Linked DNA regions of Homo sapiens: region 2 is linked to region 1. Evidence: promoter capture Hi-C in 16 types of primary human blood cells and fetal thymus (Javierre and others, 2016). All regions are on one chromosome and are shown on one strand. Each heading gives the region's core, a stretch centred on a gene start or on the middle of the fragment in contact. The rest is flanking DNA. Distances are from core to core; before and after follow the strand shown. Region 1 holds the start of NEDD1 (NEDD1 gamma-tubulin ring complex targeting factor). Region 2 overlaps CFAP54 (cilia and flagella associated protein 54).

Region 1 (2,745 bases), core at 111-2,610:
AATTATATATATATTGCATACATACACATTACGTCTATATACACAAATACAGTGCTTAGTAAAGTGTTCAATAAATATCTATTTTTATATGTATAACTAGTATTATATCATATAATATGTATATATTATATTACATGTATTATTATATATATTTTCATATAGTCTAGTCTCAATTTTCCTGCTGGCTTCAATTTTCAGAGATTTAATTAATTGCCCTTTTTGTTTGAAGTTTTCTTTTCTCCATTTGCTCCCATTCTCCCTGCCCCCACTCCCTTACCGTACTTTCTTAGTTCCCAACTTTCTGGGCCTCCTCCCTGCCCAAATTGGATTTCATAGCCTCAAGAACTGCAGACTGTACAATTAAGGTAGTTGCTGCTTGCTATCTTTCTCCTTTTGCCACTCCCCCATGAACCTCAGTAACTTGGCTACGATTTCAATTTCTGCTCTGAAAAAATGCACTTATTAGAATTTTCCAATTATCTGCAATATGAATGCAGATAACTGGGGCTGATGTACCTAGTTCAGAAACACACCCCATGTAGTTGTGATGAAAGAATAACACTTTTTGCAGAAGAAATGCTCTATATTTATGATAAATATTCTTAGCAAAAATTGTCAGTAGAGCTATAAAAGGACCTTTGGAAGGGGCACTTGAAAACTCGGCTCAGCAACTTCCTTTTCCACCTTGAAGTATCCCCTTCAAAAGAATTCCCAAACAGATGATGTTTGATGTTCCGGACCTCGCAGCATGATGCGAAAGAAAGATCATGGGTTTTGAAGTAGGTTAGTGCAGACGCCTACTCTTTGGGTTATTTCTCAGCCTGAGCGCGTTTCCTGGCTTGTAAATCGCATGTAGGAATCCTTTCCTAAATCCACATCCACAATAGTTTCCCTTATTATGGGTCTTCGTGCATCTTATACCTTTCATTATCATAGTTTCACTTTCCATTTAAGCATCTAATAACGTCAGCTTCCTATAGTGCATTGTAAGCTCCACAAGGCCAAGGACCACGAGAATTCACTGTACCCCTGTATCCCCAGGCTAAACCATCACTGTACACTCAAGAGTCTAGCACAGTGCCTGGCACACAGTAAACAGCAAGTGAATGACAAGCAGTTGGCAGTGGCCGGAGCTCCGTCGCTGGGGCGTGGAGAGGGCCGCCCCGGCCCGCAGTTCCCGCCCTGACACTGGGATAACTTCCCCCGCGGCTGCCCAGCGCCGCCCTGACCAGACCCTCTGTACCCCGACTTCTGTCCGGCCAGAAGCCACAGCCGCACGCAGCGCCTCGCCCCGTGACGTCACTCGGGGCGGGACTTCCGGCCGCCGAAGTTTAACAGTCCAGGCGGGAGCCGGAAGCCCAGCGCGGAGCCGGCCGCGGCCCCCTGTTGTGTTGCTGCGGAGAGGTGAGGTTCCGGAGGCCCTGAGGTCAGCGGGCCCCCGCCCGCCGCGTCCGCGCACCCTCCCGATCCTAAGACCCGCTCCGTCCCCCTCAGAGGGCGGGGCGGCGGTCCTTGGGCTTTGCGCGCCCGGAGCGGTTGCTGGGCGGGGGCGCGGCGGCGCGCTGGGCTGGGAAGTGTCCGGGGAGGCGCGGGCCGGGGTCGCGCACCTCCCGGAGCCTTGTGGGGTGTGCTGCCTCCGAAAAGTTTGCCTCGTCTCCACAAGTCTGTCTCCTTTTTTGTCAACCTCAAGTACTTTTCTTTTGGCAGGTACTTGGATGCATTTTACAGGTTAGCCTCACTTGAGCTGTTGTCCTGCAAGTAAAGTGTATTTTTGGTGATTGAAAGTTGGAGAACTTTCATTTCAGCTGAGTGGTGTAGTTGAATTGGTTCCTGTAGCCGCTGTCCCTAAACCCAGGCCGACGTTACCGCCTTGTGTCCTGACTGCTAGCTTTCGACGGGACCGTCTTTGAGGGACTCATGTAAAGTCTCTCCCTTAATGCTCAGTTCTTAGAAGACCGAGGTAGGTGGGCAGATGGTCCTCTTCCCCGCCCCGCTTTAAGAGCCGAAAACAAACATTAAATCACCCGGCGAGTTGTGTTTCCTAAGTTGGAGCAGGTCGTTTGAACCCAGTTTTTCTGAGCCCAGGCCTCAGTGATCTACCCACTACACCCCGCAGCTCACCAGGCCTGGTTACGATGCAGTTAGACACAGCTTGCAGTTGTGGTTTACAGGGCTTAGAGCTCGCTTTTCCAGCAATTCATTAGTTGTTCCTTGACTTGGGAACCAAGGGGGCACGTGTTACACATGTTTAAGGCTCCAAATCCAAACATTGTGTTACATCTCTGCAGGTGACTTTAATGGCTTTTAGTAGCACTGTATCGGATGAATGGAGCATAAGGAAGCACATGAGTGAATTACATTAACTTTTTGTCTCGAGAATGAAACGTTTCTATAATTCTGTCTTTAACTTGTCCTCTGAAATGGCTTATACTAGACGTAGGTGTGCTGTTGTATTGGTGACTCGGGGACCTGCCTGTGACATCACTAATGCTGTGCAGTAGTCTTGCACTTTCCATACTAGGAAGGTGTGGGAGGTATAATTCTGTGCCCTCTCCCTTTCCTTTTCTCCCATGTACTTTTGAGCATCTTTTTTTCTCACTTATCGTTCATTACTACCTGTTGCTCTTTAAAGTGCCTGTCTAGAGCAGCTTCTTTGCCTTCTGTTTTCTAGACTTCCTTGGTTTGTGAAATCACCTTGTTAGAATTACGTGTTTCAGCTGTATGCTCTGAATAAATGATTGAAGG
Region 2 (2,722 bases), core at 166-2,665, 330 kb before region 1:
TTAGAAAAGTATTTTTTTTGTTACATTGATATAAAAGAATGCCTTTTAAACAGGCTCATTTTTCTCGTCGGCAGGTCTCCTGGTACTGCATTTTGGGTTGCAAAGCAGAAGGAAGTTATGGAAAAGTACGGCTAAACAATAATCATCTCCCAAATTCAGGAGAAGCGGTACGTCAAATTAAACATCAGGAAATCTTACTGAAGCCTTTAATGATAATTAAATTTTTAAATGAAGTCATTGTTTTGGTGAATCTCTCTAATTTCCACCTGAATCATAACTAAAATCCAACAATGAAAGAAAAAGGTTTTTTTTTAATAGAAGGTTTACTTAATTGTATTTTAAAAGTCATGTTATTTTAATTTTTCATGTATAACTTGAAATATATTTTTCTTAATAGATACCAGCTGACGGTAAAAGTGTTTTTGAAGTGAAAGGTTTAGAAACCAATGAAAAGTATGTATTTGCAGTTGCTGCCTATTCTAACAACGGAAAGCTTGTCGGTGGTGCTATTGGGGAGACAACTAAACCAATTCTGGTTTATCCCCCTCTTTCTACTATTACTGCTCGGATGTTCCTGACACAGGTAGAAAAGATTTCTGCTAATTTTTTCCACTGTGTTTTTTTTTCCATTAAGCAGTTATGAAGTAATTTCTGATGGAAATAAAAATCACAGCAGATATTCTAAAGCTCCTATAACACATATTATCCATTACTACAGTTTTGTCTCATAAAATATGAATCATTCCTTCTCTTATTAGTAAATTTGCTTTTTGACAATAACATTTTTTCCCCTGGATTACAAATGTAACACATATATATTAATTTTAGAAATGCTGGAAAACACTGAAATGCATAAAGAAGAAAATAAATGTTATCTGTTATCCTATCATCCAGAGTAGCAGAGTTCTTACCCTGGGGCAATTTTGTCAATGTCTAGAGAAATTTTCAGTTGTCACAAACTAGAGGGGTGCTACTGGCATCTAGTGAGTAGAGGCCAGGGAGGCTGATAAACATCCTACAATGTACCGGATAGCCCGCATAGCAAAGAATTATCCAGCATAAAATGTCAGTGGTGTCAAGATTGAGAAACCCTAATCCAGAGATATCCTTTTATTTTTGTGTATCTATCTGCCTATTTATCTATCTAATTAATATATATATATATATACATGCACACACACGTGTATATGAATTTATGTACAATATATAATTTAAATCATAGTATACATATTATTTTACATCCTGATATTTTCACTTAACATATAATTGACATTGCTGTATTCCATTAAGTATTCTTCCAAAACATAATTTTTAATGGTTCCATGGCATTGAATCTTATGGATATATAATAGTTTGTTAGTAATTCTCCATTGCTAAACATCTAGATACTTTCCAGTCTTTTGCTATTATAAACAAAGCTATGATGCCCAACTTTGTATATAAATCTTTACCTACATCCATGATTACTTTCTTAGGGTAAATTTATAAAAGTAAAACTTCTGGATCAGTAGAGGCAGAGAGACCTGAGTTCAAATTCCAGCTTCTCACACTATCACAGCCATGTGATAGTGGACAAGTAATTTTCATCTGTGAAGCAAGAGTAGCAGTAGTAGCTACTTCCCAGAGGTATTATGAGTATTAAATGGAATTATGCCTGTCAAATATTATCACACAGTAGGCATTGAATAAATAGTATTGTTTTTAGTTAGGGATATACTCATGAATTAATGTTTTTTGTCGAAATAGTTGTTGCCTGACTTAAAACATGTCATCAGTGAAGAGGATGCTAGGAAGAGTGACTCATTGACATAGGTCTCAAGTATCTAATTTTAAGCCTATTCTTGACTGTAGAGCTGATGGCTTTTCTAAATTTTGTCATATTTCTATTCTATTTTCTCTTAATAGTTGATTAGTAATATAAGATAAGATCTTAGTGGCATTTTATATAGCATATTTTTCAAAGAAAATTAAATTGAGAGAATTACTAGGATTTGTCTAGTATTGGTTTAGCGTGTCATACTGGCTCATGGTTTTCTGATGTTTTGGTATCTTTGGAATCTAATATATTCCCTAATTTGCAGTGATGGAGTTATTGTGAGGAACTGAATATTTCATCAAGGCCTAATTTTTCTCCAGGGAGTGGTTTGACTCTTGGGCTTAATTTGGTAGAACTTTCATTGAAAGTTAATAAAACTAAGTCAGAGCTATACTGCTGGGATAATGAGTAGTGTCATGAAGTAATGACCTGTGTTTCTTTACTGACACTATATTTGCAGTTCTGTAGTTTATTTATGATGGTTTATGTGCATTCTGTCTCATAATGTTAAGAGGCTAAAGCAAAGCTTTCTCACTTATTAAACCTCCTTAATTTATAACTTAAGTTTAAGCTTTTAAGTTTCAGCAAGTTAATGTACCTCTATTTTGTAAGTGCAATCTAATTTTCATGAGAGTGGTTAGTTTCTAGTTTCAGGACAGTTCTTTTCTTTAAAACATATTATTATAAATATTTGATAGTAAAGCATGGAGACGTTTCACTAAATGCCTGTGATTAACTTGGCTTTTGGGACTTTAGGTTGTACTTTTTACTCAGCATTATTCTGTAAATATTAATAAAATCAAGTGAATCTCTACTAGGCTTTCCCTAAATGTAGAAGGCTATTAGTTTAGTGTATCTGGAAATTTTTTTTTGAGGAAACTTTTTGAATTATCTATTTTCTGTGGC

The links. The method cuts DNA at HindIII sites, captures the fragments that hold promoters and counts their contacts. A CHiCAGO score of 5 or more calls a contact.
Region 2: a fragment that was not itself captured here is called in contact with the fragment with the promoter of NEDD1 in region 1 in 2 of 17 cell types (endothelial precursors and total CD8 T cells); the score reaches 7.9 in endothelial precursors.

The regions. Positions count from the first base shown.
Region 1 is chr12:96,905,897-96,908,641 of GRCh38, forward strand. It overlaps NEDD1 (NEDD1 gamma-tubulin ring complex targeting factor), which reads left to right and starts at 1,361. Exons shown (of 16, transcript NM_152905.4): 1 at 1,361-1,404; 2 at 1,708-1,960. RefSeq lists a silencer at 1,394-1,673 and enhancers at 1,914-2,003, 2,044-2,183. The HindIII fragment of the contact is 8,934 bases long and covers 1-2,745 here.
Region 2 is chr12:96,580,523-96,583,244 of GRCh38, forward strand. CFAP54 (cilia and flagella associated protein 54) reads left to right here. Exons shown (of 68, transcript NM_001306084.2): 21 at 75-167; 22 at 398-583. Among named protein-coding and RNA genes, the nearest start is that of CFAP54, 92 kb to the left of the region's middle. The HindIII fragment of the contact is 1,849 bases long and covers 492-2,340 here.